2 separate regions of the Homo sapiens genome follow, and region 2 is linked to region 1. The links are contacts of gene promoters, found by promoter capture Hi-C in blood cells and fetal thymus (Javierre and others, 2016). All regions are on one chromosome and are shown on one strand. The core of a region is centred on a gene start or on the middle of the fragment in contact, and the rest is flanking DNA. Distances in the headings are between cores, read along the strand shown. Region 1 holds the start of PHACTR3-AS1 (PHACTR3 antisense RNA 1). Region 2 overlaps PHACTR3 (phosphatase and actin regulator 3).

The links. The method cuts DNA at HindIII sites, captures the fragments that hold promoters and counts their contacts. A CHiCAGO score of 5 or more calls a contact.
Region 2: a fragment that was not itself captured here is called in contact with the fragment with the promoter of PHACTR3-AS1 in region 1 in 1 of 17 cell types (M2 macrophages); the score reaches 5.5 in M2 macrophages.

Annotation. Positions count from the first base shown.
Region 1 is chr20:59,625,191-59,632,146 of GRCh38, forward strand. PHACTR3-AS1 (PHACTR3 antisense RNA 1) reads right to left here and starts at 3,099. Exons shown (of 2, transcript NR_040513.1): 1 at 2,908-3,099; 2 at 1,274-1,759. All of the region lies in intron 1 of PHACTR3 (phosphatase and actin regulator 3), which reads left to right. The HindIII fragment of the contact is 11,450 bases long and covers 1-6,956 here.
Region 2 is chr20:59,744,026-59,750,981 of GRCh38, forward strand. PHACTR3 (phosphatase and actin regulator 3) reads left to right here. Exons shown (of 13, transcript NM_080672.5): 3 at 3,733-3,810. Among named protein-coding and RNA genes, the nearest start is that of PHACTR3-AS1, 120 kb to the left of the region's middle. RefSeq lists enhancers at 165-234, 6,579-6,956. The HindIII fragment of the contact is 1,828 bases long and covers 3,221-5,048 here.

The DNA.
Region 1 (6,956 bases), core at 1,849-4,348:
ATTCTGCCTAGAGCCAGGGTCTGCAGAGATCTCTCTGGAATCTGATAGCTAGAGGCCTCAGTTGACCCTGAGGCAGGCCCCATTCCTGTTAGAGAAGGTGCGTGGAACTGGTGTGGTTGGGAGGAGTGGTTGAGAATGGTCTCTGTGGGCACGGGGTTTGCCCGGCAGGCAGCTGCCCAGTACGGCTGCCTGTGTGGCTGATGTCATGTTCTCATCCCATCTGATGCACTCTCCGCAAGTCACTTTCAGAAACTGGAAGATCCCACTTAATTCTGCTCTGGAATATATTTAGAAATCTATTCATGGCCCTCTCCCAAAGCTGATGTTAAAATTAAGAGATATCATTTGTAGGATGTCATGGCTGTGCAGGAGGAACATGCTGATGTCTCCCTGGCCGCCTTTGGTTTCTTCTCTTGCTTAGGGATTTGCCCAACTCCCATTGCCCATCTGAGCCCAGCTTTCCCCCTCTGAGCCCAGTTTTCCTCCTCTCACCCCAATGTCAGAGTGGGCACATCCTCCCTGCGGAGGCATGCAGGCTTTTCCTCTGCATGCACCGTCTCTGTCTTGCGTGACAGCCCGGGGCTGTTTCTCACCCTTGTTACGCTGGGGTTCTTGGCTGAGAGCTCCTGGGCAGGGGCTGACTTTGAGATGAGGCTTCTCTGTTCGTTTCTGGCTGGTTCTAGATCTGGGTGGCATTTGGAGGGTGCACCGCTTGTATCTGTGACCGAATACCTCAGGGTTTGTGGTGAGGGACGTGGAGATTTCTGTGCTGCAAGAGATCTTAGTGCTTCTATTGTGCTGGGGAGAGGCCAGCCCATCTTGGGGTACCAGGGCTGGACCAAACTTTAGAGGGGGTCTGACCCAGGTGTTCAGAGCCAGAAATATTATTTGCAATCCTCTGCAGGGAATTTAAAAATGAAACCATTCTGAACTCTCCCTCCAGAATTCATGGTCGTCAGCCATTCAACAAATATTTACTGGACACCTGTTTTAAGCCTGTCACCGTTTTTTGAGTATGCATATAGCTATATATGGCAGGTTGCAGTGACGACTCATGTCTCTGCCTTCATGGAATGAGTAGTCTCGTGGGATGAGGGGAAACAGACAGCATAGAAATAGATGTATGATGGGACTCTAGGTGGTTATAGATGCCTGGAGTGATGATAAAGTGAGGCTGGAGGAATGAGACTGGCAGGGAGGAGAGCCCAACTGTCTGTGATAGATGGTCAGAGAGGACCTCAGAGCAGGGCATCTGTGCAGAGACCAGGCAAAGTGAGGGAGCTGGTCATGTGACTACCCTCGAGAAGAGCACTAGGGCAGCAGGAACAGCAGGTGCAATGGCCCTGCAGCAGGCATGTGCTTGGGTGTGGTAGGAACAAGGAGACCAGTGAGGCTGAGTGAGTGATGGAAAGGGGCAAGTTTTTGATGCCCACAATGCCAAGAGGTGGCCAGGGGAGGATCCCAGGGAGGTGCCGAGGCCTGGGGGAAGACTTGGGCTTTATTTTCAGAGCTGCCCGTTGAAGATTTGAATGGCTGCAGAGTGAGATGAGATTGTGCTGGAGGATTCGAAGGTCATTTAGTCAGAGATGCTGGTGGTTTGGAGCAGGTTGTTCACAGCAGATGTTCTTTGTGCCTGCATCACAATTCCTTGGACCAGCTCTGCCTTGGTCTTCAGCTGTGGCTTCAATCAACCAGCATGTTGGGTGATGAGCGCTGTATTGGAGCAGGTGGCTACACTTTCAGGAATGCTGCAAGCTGGCTGCAGTGGGAAGTATTTACACCATGGCAATTGGCAAATGTACATATCAGCTCCCTTATACCACCCAAACACTTTCCAGCACAGCACAGCCATGAGCCCAGTGCTGTGGATATTCTCCCAAGCATCAAAGTGCAGCCAGGACATGAGGGGAGCTAATGTCTGAAGGACAATCCTCAGCTGACGAAATGGGAGTAAACATCCCAGGCATGCATCCTTTAGGTGGGTGCTTCTTGGAGCTTTCAGAGAATGCAACCTTGCTGCCTACAGCTGTGACCCTGGAAATGCACGTGTGTGGGTTTGCCCTTCCTCCCTCCCTCACTCTCATTGCTCCCTTGCTTCTGCTTCCTGAGATACCTCCCAAATAAGCTACCTTCACCTAAGCCCGCCTGCAGCTCTGCTTTTAGGAGAATCCAATTAAGATGGTGGTAGAGCTAGATGTGGTGTGAGAGGGATCAGATGGCTGGGATGAGACAGAAGAGTCCTGGATGACTCCAAGCGTTCCAGCCTGAGCAGCTGGAAGGATGGAGAGGTTCTGGCGGCAATGGGGAGGAACCATTGAGATGAGCAGGATGGGGGTTGGGCAAATCAATGCTCTGTTCAGCTGTGGACAGGTTCTGTTTGAGAGACCTATCAGATCCCCAGGTGGAAATTGTACCTGGAGTTAGGGAGAGGTGTGTGGTTGGATAGAGATATCTGGGACTGGACAACACTGATTAGGTCAGGTGCCCACCTGCATCTGTGATTCAGTTGTGCCCTCCTGCTTAGGAAGCGTCTGTGTATCTATGTATGTATCTATCATCCATCTATTTATCATTTATCTCTCTTTTTTATTTATCTCTCAATATATCTATCATCTATAAATATATGTATATTCTAGCATCTAGTCATCAATCATTTATCTATTTTTATTTATGTATCAATATATCTATAATCTATTTTTCAATATATCTATAATCTGTCATCCATCTGCTAATCGATCATCTACCATTATCTATCAATCTGTGTATCTATCGTCTCTCTCTCTGTCCATCCATCCATCCATCTATCCAGGCAGTGCTTGCTTCCTTCTGCCCCCTCCTTAGCCCATCCCTGCCCAGGAAAATTCTCGTCCCTGCTCAAATGCCTTCAGTGACAGGAAACTCACCAACCTCTTAAGGCTTCGGCATGGAAGTTTCCAACTCATGTGGCCACTCCAGAATGCTGTCCTCCAGGGACTGTGTTTCTCTCTCATGTCCTCCTCCCAAGATTTATTTACACTCCTCACTTGCCAGGAGAGAGTACTTGGGAGCTCCGAGCCATGCGTGTTCCCTGGCAGGGTCGCCTGTGTGCTGGGGAAGAATGGGCCCAGTCATGGGGTGGAGACGCCCCCCAGCTGCAGCCCTGGCTCCCGAGCAGAGGCGGCTTTGTGCTTCTCGGGGACAAGGGTTGCCATTGAGGCAGGCCAGGGATGCTGTGCAAGCTAGCGATGGCTGCAGGCTGAAATCGGGCATTTCACAGAGAGCAAGCACTGCACTGTCCCCGCAGCCTGCACGTGAATGGAGGCTTTGGCCCTCGGAGTGCAGCCGTGCATGGGGCCACGTGCAGGCATTTCTGGCTCCTGGCTCCCAGGGAGAGAGGCGAGCCCTGTTCTCTCCCCGAGTTCTGTTTGACAAAATTCACAAAAACACAAAGAAACAAAAAGTACGGGAGAGGATCAGTTCATTCTCCTGACTCCTGGTTGGTCTCAAGACCTCCCCTGTTGCCTGTGCTCTGGAAGATTCCCCATAGTACCTACTAGGTGGGCCAGAGAAGGATGGATTTGTGGGACCCTGGAAGGCTGGGAAGAGGACTGAGAAGCCACAGCCCTGCGCTGGGAAGAGCCACGGAGGTTAGATCTTGTTTTTTGTTTGTTTTTAATACAATTGTTCACACTTTCTAAACTTTTTTGAAATAATTTTAGACTCACGTGGGGGTTGCAGAGCTTCCCTCAATGACAGCATCCACCTTTCCATGGTTCACTGGTTGGCACCAGGAGGTGGACATTGGTACAGTGAGGTTAACTAAACCAACTAAACCAGAGGCCTTAGCGAATTCCACCAGGTTTTGCAAGCACTTTTGCTGTTTTTTCAGTGAATAATTGAATGAAATTTTATCACACCTATAGCTTCACGACAACCAGGTGAGACTTGACTTTTAAATAATGAGGCGCCAGGCCCCTTGGCTCCTGAAGTGGCATGGGCGACGTGTGTGGATGCTGACTGGATGCCCACCTGCTTCCTTTTCTCTACGTTGTGCCCCCACCATGCTCCAGTGGCAGGGGCAGCCTCCTCCTGGCCCCCAGGCCTCTGCTTCTCTGGTGCCTGTGGAGGCTCAAGCCTTTACCCCACCTCCCTTCTTCCCAGGAAGGCCCTGGCTGCCTGAGAAGGCCCAGCCTTCCCCTTCTCCCTCCGCTGTTCTGGCTGAGCTCATCTCCTGTGGCTGCCCTAGCATGTGCTGCAGACTGGGGGATTCCACAGCAGAAACCTACTCTCTCGCAGTGCTGGAGGCTGGAGGTCTGAGATCAAGGTGCCAGCAGGGCGGGTTCCTTCTGAGGGCTGTGAGGGCAGGACCCGTCCCAGGACTCTCTCTGTGGCTGTGAGTGGCCGCCTTCTCCCTGGTTCTCTTCACATGATCATCCTGCCCTTCCAGGGTATGAGCTCCATGCCTGTCCCCAGAAGATCTGGAGGCTTCCATCTTCTGCTCCTTATCAGACAATGGAGCGGAATAAACACGGTTGCCTCTCTGGAATTGGAGCTTAGTGCTCATGAAATAAAATTCTCTTAATCTCACAATTGTCCTCAATACAGTTGCAGTGGGTGGCACCGAATGAGTGTCGTGCTTGTCAAGACAGCCACTGTGGCCTTCCGTCTTCCCACTGACTGATGGCAAGTCACTAGAAGGAAGCACCCAACTCCCCGTGATGGCATTAAATGACACCCGTGGGTGTGGCTGTAGACCAGGGGTTCTAGGCAGCCAAGGGGGTTCCATGCAGCCAAAGGAAAGAAGAAACTTTCCTGCAGAATGCATGAATATAGGGCCAGGTCCTAAAGCCCAGCCCACGGGCAAGTGTGTCCTGGTGGTTGCCACTTTCCAGTCAACTGATTAGTGTCAATCATGACACTGATTTCCTGGCAATGTGTGAGATGATTTTAGGTGGTAAATGAACTATTAATTTTATAAAGAACGTTCATATCAGGTATATGTCTGTTTAATTTTTCTTTTTTCTTTTTTTTGAGATGGAGTCTCACTCTGTCCCCCAGGCTGGAGTGCAGTGGTATGGTCTTGGCTCACTGCAACCTCTGCCTCCCAGGTTCAAGTGATTCTCCTGCCTCAGCCTCCCGAGTAGCTGGGATTACAGGTGCCCACCACCACACCTGGCTAATTTTTATATTTTTAGTAGAGACAGGGTTTCACCCTGTTGGCTAGGCTGGTCTTAAACTCCTAACCTCAGGTGATCCGCCCGCCTAGGCCTCCCAAAGTGCTGGGATTACAGGCTTGAGCCACCGTTCCCAGCCTGTTTAATTTTTCATTAGAAAAATATTGCATTTCCATTAAAGTAGACGTCAAGTTTTCATTTTAAACTTTCTTAAGAAAACATTATATTCATTTTAGACCAAGTGGTTCTATTAGAGCAACATCCATAAGAGTGGTGACGTGTGAGTGAAGTTGGGGAGACACCGGGTGGTGCAGTTACCCAGCACCATCTAGAGGAAGTACCACTGGGGTGGGCGGTTACCTGGCACCATCTAGAGGAAGTGCCACTGGGTGGGGGTCCCTTCACAGAGGCAGGGTCCAGTCCCGGCCACCCTCAAGGAGCTTGTACTGTCGAAGTGGGGAGGGGGACATGAGAAATGTTGACTCAGGGGCAGAGGGTTCTTAGGCTTATCAAGGAAGCTCTAGGATTCTCGGTGTTCTAGGGGATTCGAGGAGGAAAGTTACACCTGATGGGTAGACAGGGGTGGTTGGAGGGATTTGGTAAAACGTTCATGAAGAAGGGGTGGGTCTGTGGGGTTTCTGGAGTTGAAGTGACCACCACCAGGGATGCTGGCATGTGGAGCTAGCTTCATGGCTGTTAGCTGTCATTGTGGAATGGAAGTTAAAGTGTGCGTTGAGCAGGGCTGAAAGAGGCATAGACCTCCCATACTGGGAGAGAAGCCATGCTCAGGGAAGAATGCCCAGAGGCTAAAAGTCAGGGTCAGATGCCCATCTTAGGGGCCCTTGGTTGCCATAATTATCAAGGCAAGGTCCTTGGATAAAGTCTGGTCCGGTGCCTCTGAAACTTCTATGTGCATACATGTCACTGGGAGTCTGGTTAAAATGTGGATTCTGACGCTTGGGTAGGGCCTGAAACTCTGCATTTTTAATGAGCTCCTGGGGGATGCTGCTCCTCAGATGCCCCGCTCTTCTGTCCCCTAGCCCCCAGCAACAGCAAACACTTAGTGCCTGCCTTTCTGCAGGGACAGGGGAGGGAGGTTTGTTTGCAGTGACAGTTTTTGGGTAGCTATGGAGGGAGGAGAGAGGTAGGACTTTGTCTTGGTCCAGTTTACAGGGGCCTTGACAGAGGCAGGAGGGGTGGGCAGGAGTTGCCAACTTTTATATTTTGGTCAACTAGGGATGTTTAAAAACAACAATGAAGAAAAACCCGAACATCCTTGGTTTCACAACAGTATAATAATAACACTATTAACACCAGTATTTCCCAAAAGAAATGGAATTTCAAATCCAAAGAGTCAGGAAGGCCATATACTCCAACAGAAGACAGTCTTTTCAAGGACACAGAGCCAGCCCCCAAAACACCTCACTGCATTGTCCTCATTTTTCAAAGGACTTGGGAAACATCACCCCAGGCTGGCATGGATGACTGGGCTGAGGCTTGGGGGCTGCGGCTGTATGAACGGGAATGCCTGTGGTCCTCAGAGCTGAGGTCTGTGTTCCCAGAAGCCCCTGTAGAGTGGCATCTGGCCCCGGCCTGTGGTAGCCTCTGTCCTTTCCCAGGAGAGAGGTTGCCAGGGCCTGAGCAAACACTGACCTGGAGTGTCCCTGCTTCTGAACCTGCCTCCCTATCGTCCTCACCTTGTGGTGTACGGGACGTGTGGGGACTGTATCATCTGGGCTGTGGCTGGCGGCCTCTCGTCTAATGCTACCACATGCCCTTCATAGGCCATGATGAGCCATGGCA
Region 2 (6,956 bases), core at 2,885-5,384, 120 kb after region 1:
ATGAGGCTGAACCACAGACAGGGTGGACACAGGCAGTGATGACGGGACAAGCAGCCGTAAGGCACATAACGGCAGAACACGGCCCCCCAGCATTTGGCATGGAGGAGCCAACTCAACCCTCAGAACCTCCTGCTAGGCCAGCACTCCCGCAGGATCCTGCCCCATCGGAAGGGATGGGGAACAGGCCCAGAAAGGGAAATCACTCACCCAGGGTCACACAGCCAGCAGGTGGCGGGGCTGAGGCTTGGACCCTGGCAGCCGGGTGTGGTGGCTCGTCAGCCTGGGCTCTGCAGATGGCAGTGTTCTGAGAAGAGAGCCCGGAGGAGGCCGCATCTCCACCCCAGGGCCCCGCCTCCAGCCACATGCCTGTGAGCCACACCTAAAAACAATTAGTGAGGGAGCTGCTGCTGTGGAATCAGTCCCAGGCCTCAGGAACCAGCCCTGGCGAGTGCCCGTCTCAGGCTGTTGCCTCGGGGGGTCCCTGGGGTCCCATTTCCTTTCCAGCTCTGAAGAGGCGCAGGCTCCAGGGCTTTGAGGATGGTGGAGACGAAGGCCAGGTGTTACAGCGCCCAGGCCCACAGCAGGGGAGGCGGCCAACACCGACAGCAGGCCCTCCACTCATGCTTTTCTGTGTGCTTTACAAAATTATTATTATTATTTTTACCAACCAAGAAGTTGATAGATGAATTCTTGTTGAAGTGGAAACAGAACAAGCATCATCATTCGGCAGATCTTGAGCACCTCCTGTGTGCCCAGTACCAACAGGAGGGGCCCAGGCCCTGCCCACCCAGAGCTTTCCGCAGAGTAGGGAGTCGAGTGACAAAGTGTGGAAGCCACCAAGTGAACCAGCACGTGAGTCGATTGCAGACTCCGGCGAGGCTGCAAGGCAGCCTCCCTCACTGGATGCTAGGCTCAGCTAGGTGGGCGGGTTCCATTTGTTCCCCTGCATCTGGCAGGGCCCCTTGCACACACACGGCACTAATGGGCTCTTAGTGATCCAGGCTTAATGGCAGGATCACGGAGCAGGCCCTGGGGGGTGGAAATGAGCAGGGCGGGCACTGCTTTGGGCCCAGTGGTCCGAGAAGACCCAGGTGAGGAGGCTGCATTGAGCTGAGATGTAATTGGTTCATTGAGAAAGGCAGGGAAGAGCATGGCAGCAGTGGGAACAGCCCTCGAAAAGGCAGCGAGCTGGGGAAGGCACGTCTGTGCAGCAGTGAAAGGCCGGGGGACTAGAGCAGAGTGACCTCCGTGACCTCAGGGGGGTCTCTGACATTCTCCAGGCCTGCTGACCCCAGCAGTGGAACTGGAAGGCTGAGGTTTGTCTTCTGAGGACTCTGGGCTCTTTGGCCTACTCCAAGCTGTGCCGTGTGAGTTCACCAGCAAGATGCTCTGGGGACCCTGCAAGGGCATTGGAGGTCTCGAGGTTTTTACCTGCAGCATCCCCACCTTCAGGACCGCCATTCGGGCATCTGGAAATTCGAGGAACAGTGCTGCATTTTGTTTACTTATTCCAAACCACTATTTTCCTTTAAAGCAGGGGGTGTTATTTGTTTCAGCATATCAAATTCCTGATTTCACGGGCATCACGGGTTAGGATGAGTTGAAGTGAATGCAAAGATGATTGAAAGAGAAATATGTAGCAAACAGTGGTTTTGGTAGGCGAGGCTGGGGGAACCGGCTGAAGATGGCTCTCAGGGGCTGCAGGGTGGACCAGCATCTCAGTCCATGCCTGCCCTGGCAGGTGGCTCAGATCCACTCAGCCATTTACACACTGTACCACCTTCACAAGCTGCACCACCACTGACGTCCCCATCCCCGAGAGGGGGAGGGTAGAGCCTCGCAGCTGCATCTTTGGGTCATCGGGAAGTCCTTGAGTCAGTGCAGGCAAAGACCTGTGATGTCTGAGGCTAGCCACCATGAGCACCGCCTGGTGCCGGCCTGGGGACGGGGTCCACACAGAGCTCGAGGCCTCCACCCCTGTTCTTCTTATCTGCTTTGTGAGCCTGGCTGCAGCCTCTTTGCTGACACCTCCCAAGGTCAGCATTCACTTTGTCAATTTTATCCACAATTCTGGCACCTGGAAATTGGCTTGGAAATTGGGACCACAGAAAGGAAATTCTGTTTTCTCTGCCCAAAAATGTCCCCACCCTGCTGTGTTTGGGTTTCCCTTTTCATCCTTTGGCTTTAGGGTAAATATCCTCAGGGAAGCCACCCGGGAGGTCAAGGATGGGATGGGTTTCCCCAGACAACTGCCCCCCAGTCAGTCCCCCGCCCCAGGCCTGACTTATTCCTCCTCGCCCACTTCTAGACACTTGCCATCTGTCCTCCCACCTGTGCTGGCATCAGGCAGAGGCTGTGCCTGTCTTGCTCATGGCAGAATCTCCTGTGCCTGACATGGTGCCTGGCACACAGTAGGTGCTCAGTAAATGTGTAAGGGGTTTCCATAGATTGAACACCTGATCACCATGGCCTGTTCCCCCAGTGGAGCCCCACCTGTGAAGGCTGCAGGGCTTCTGCCCTCCGTGACTCCCCAGCACCCAGCTCAGCACTTGGCACATAGCAGGTGCTCAGGAAATGCTTTTGAGTAAGTGAAATAATTCCATTGCCAGTGCCTGTTTGTCATCTGCCTCCCCAACTAGACATTAAGCTAAGCCAGGTGGGCTGACTCTGTCTGTTCCCCGGCAGCTGGCAGGGCCCCCTGCACACACAGAACACTGATGGACTCTCTGTGATCCAGGGTTAATGGCAGGATCACGGAGCAGGCCCTGGGGTGGAAATGAGCAGGGCGGGCACTGCTTTGGGCCCAGTGGTCGGAGAAGACCCAGGTGAGGAGGCTGCATTGAGCTGAGATGTAATTGGTTCATTGGGAAAGGCGGGGAAATCATCACAGCAGTGGAAACAGCCCTTGCAAAGCTGCATCTTTCAAAGAAAGGGTTGAGGTGGTTATGTAGTCTTGTATTTGGAAATTGGGGCTCACCTGTAGGCAAACAGTTTTCCTGACGGAAGGAAGAAGATGATTGTGGAGCAGCCCGAGGCCTGCCTGTGAAAGAAGGGAGAATGGGACAAGGTGGTGGCCGTCGCTCAAGAGTGTTTTGCTCCGGGAAGGGGAGGCAGAAAGGGCTATTCTGAAGGCGGAATTGACAAAGATTTGGCAAATTAGGCTTGGTGGAAGGGGACTGGGGGCTGGCCTCCTCCCTTCCTGTCCATCTGGTAGACTGGAAGCTTTTAACCTGGGTTTATTGGAAGAAGCTCTAGTGGGAGAGCCGCACAGGAGAATCTCATCTGTGAGTGGATGTTAAGAGCGGCCAGGAGGCACTTCGCAAAGGCGAACAGGAACCACGGAAAGGAGCCCGGGGTGTTGGCGGCAGAGGGAGGGCACTTTCCTTGGTTGGTAATTTAGGGAACATTTGGTGAAGGGCAGGAATGGCTGGTGAGAGCTAGCTTAGAGAGGGGCGTTATATGTGCAGGGGCTTTCCAGATAAATCACAGAAATGATCGCTGTAGAATATCTACTGCGTGCACTGCTCTTTAGCTGTGGTTTATGCACATTGCTTAGCAGCACTCTTGGTAAGAAAGTTGGGCCTCGCCAGTGGACTAGGCCCCCTAACCCCGAGGCGCCTGCTAGCTCAGTGTTTTTGGTCTGTAAACTTGAGCCTGGCATTGGCTGTGGCTTGGACAGGGCCCAGTGACACCTTTGCCTGAGACTCACCTGTGTGTTTGTGTGTTGGGCAGCGCTGGAGAAGAAGATGGCCGGCAGGCAAGGCCGAGAGGAGCTCATCAAGAAGGGGCTGCTGGAGATGATGGAGCAGGGTAAGTGGGACCCGTCCCTGGCTTGGAAGGGCACGGTGCTGGGAATGCAGAATGGAAAGTCTCACATGAGCCCAGGAAGCCCATCAGAAACAGTGTAGAATCCAAGGAGGGCCGTGTTCAGATGAAGCCTGCAAGGTTGGAGAGACACCCCATGTCAGGAGCCATTCCATTGGTCCAGCCCCCAGGGGCACGGGAGACCCCATTACTGAGCTGAAGAGCTCCCCCTCATGGCACCACTCCTCTCTGGGGAATGTCTAACAGAGCTGGGTGTGCATGAATCTGGTGGTTTATCCCAATTCCTTTAAAGTGGTAGCAGTGGTTTTTTCAGCATTAATTTTTTTTTCATATTCACATTTCAGTCCTCCATTTGGGCAAATTATTTTTAATTCCACTATTACCTACTCCCCCTACCACCATGTAGGAAGCATTCAGGACATGCTGGGGCGGGGTGGGATATTGTGCACGCCCTGTCTCATTGGTCTTCCCAGCATCCCTGGGGAGAGAGGCAGCGGCTATCCCACTTGCAGACGAGGCGTGGGAGGGTCTGGGTGGTGACTGCCCCAAGTCATTGCAGCCTGAGAGCAGAGACACAGAACAAATCCTGATCTCTTGGTCTCTGGTCTAGAGAGCTTAATCTCAGTGGGGTCTACATAATCATCTTTGTTTCCATCTTTCAGAAAGGCCAGTTATTATCACTCATGCAATTAACTGAACAGAGTTCTTTAATTCCCAAGTCTTTCTCTTTGTGATGGATTCCTGGAGGTGTGAGGCCCAGGACTTAGATGCTGACACTAGCCCTTGGTGCCTTCCGGTTCCCTGAGAGGCTAAATCTTGGTTAGGAGGTTTCACAACACCTCACTGCCTCTGGAAGACTCTCTGGAGCTGGACCAAGCTCTGGCCTGCTGATTTGAGGAATCTGGCCATGCATAGCCAGTTTCCTGAGGCTTGCATGGATATATTGAATTCCTCTCTCCCCACTTCAGCCTTAAAATATTACTAGTGTCTTTGTAATTTGGCCCAAATATCAGGAATTAGGAAGGAAGCTCATGAAATAAACGAATCCAGATTTTATGCAGCCGGGCCTGTCAGCACACAAACCCGATTGTGGGCCCAGGCTTTTGTCATTGTTTCCTCTCTTTAGACTCGAAGAGTGAAGTATTTTGATGATGCTATTTTTAGGGGAAATCTACATGGGAAATTGCTTCATAGTGATAATAAAACCTTACATGTGCGAGGAAAGCTTGGTGTCAAGTCCCGTGGCACTCAGATGGTTAACGCCGTCGTGACGCTCGGATTTGGCGGAATGCGGTTGCTGAGCTAGAAATCTGGAGGATTTTCACTGGGATGGGACAAAAAAGTGTCAAACTCCGGCATTTTGAATATGTTGCCAACAAGCATACCTTTGGATCTTAGGGAAGGAGAAAGGAAGATGAAAACAATGCTAAGGCCTTTTCTCATCTATTCTAAAAAAAACACTACTTTTGTTGAGTAAAGAGTAAGTATATAGATTTGGTTCCTCTCAAAAATGAAGCTATAGTTTGACTAATTAAAGGGGAAAACTTCTAGGAGCGTTGGCTTTTTTCCACTCTGAATTTTTGCAAGATGACTTTGTCTGATGAAGTCATAGCAGAGGCTGGAGACGAATGCTTGGCCGCGGCCAGGCTGACAGTGTGGCTCTCACCCTGCTGCCGTGGGAGCCTGGTCTCTGGCTTCCGTGCCTCTGACGGCGACATCACACACCCGCAGGCTTACAGAATCACTTTAGATCAGGGTCGGCAAACCTTTTCTGGAGAGGGTCAGATAGTGCATATTTCAGGGGGACGTGCAGTCTCTGTTGCAACTACTTGTCTCTGCTTTTGTAGCGCAAAGGCAGCCGGAGACAAAACATGCATGAGAGGGCATGGCTGTGTCCCAAGAAAACTTTATTTATGGCCACTGGCCTTTGAATTTTATATAATTTTCATGTGCCACAAACTATTATTTTTCTTTTGATTTTTTTTTCTTTTGTCAACCATTTAAAGATGTCAAATCCAGGTGGGGGAGCTGGATTGGTCCCCACATTGTGGTTTGCTCATCTCTACCTTCCATACTCTCTCTCTTGCTAAATGATTGTGGACCAGGGACTAGAGTGGCCTGAAACACAGTCTCTTTCCTTGAGAGGGAAAATGCACTCCTAAATTGATGCCATGACATTTTATTGAGGGCCCACTCTGTGTCAGGGTCTGTGCTAGCTGCTGAGGACACAGGTGAGCAAAATACTGTTCTGAACGCACATCCAGTGGGGCCATTAGGTAATCCCACAAAAAGCCGGCAACTCACGACCACAGTGAGTGCAGTGAAGGATGCAGCACCCTAAGATCATGAGACAGGACCTGACCTGGTTCTCGGGGGGCCGGGAGATGTTTGAGTCAGGTCCAAAGGTGGGCAGGAGGACCTAGGCTGGTTCTCAGAGTCTGTTGCATATTAGGATCACCTGGAGAGATTTAATAACCCTCCACCGCTCAGGCAGCAGTTAAATTAGATGCGCTGGGCGTGGGACCCAGGCAGCAGTGCTTCCTCATCCTCCACAGCTGATTCCGACTTTGATGCAGGAAGGTTGAAAAGCCAAGAGACAGAAGGAAGCGGGGAGTGACTTCCAGCCCACAGGAGCAGCAAGCACAAGTCCCCGCGGTGGAAGGGACCTTGAGATGGTGGGTTGGGTTGGAGGAAAGGAGGAAGGAGGAAGCAGGAAAGGGAGAGGGGCTTGGGTCAAGACGCCTCCCGTCTTCCCTGCCCACACACCGGCTGGGGTGGCAGAGGCATGACCACGCTGCTGCGGGAGCCTGGGGCGGCCACAGTGCGAGTGGGTGGGATCTGCGAGGAGCCCGAGTGTCTCTGCAGGGAAATATCAGGGACCGGGCAGCAGGGGTTGCTCTGGGAGGGGACTTGGACTTGCTTTTCGCAGTCGACTCTTCTGTGCTGCTTGAATCCTTTACTGTGTGCCACCTGTAATCAACCTGTAATCAACGTGCTGTAATAACGGGATCCACGCAGATGCTTGGCCACAGGCTCCCGGCTAAATCCTTCCCTGCACCGCAGTTTCCGTCCTGCACTAGCTTCAAAAATGTCTTTTCTCACTGGGTCGACCTGAGGTCAGACCCTGTCTG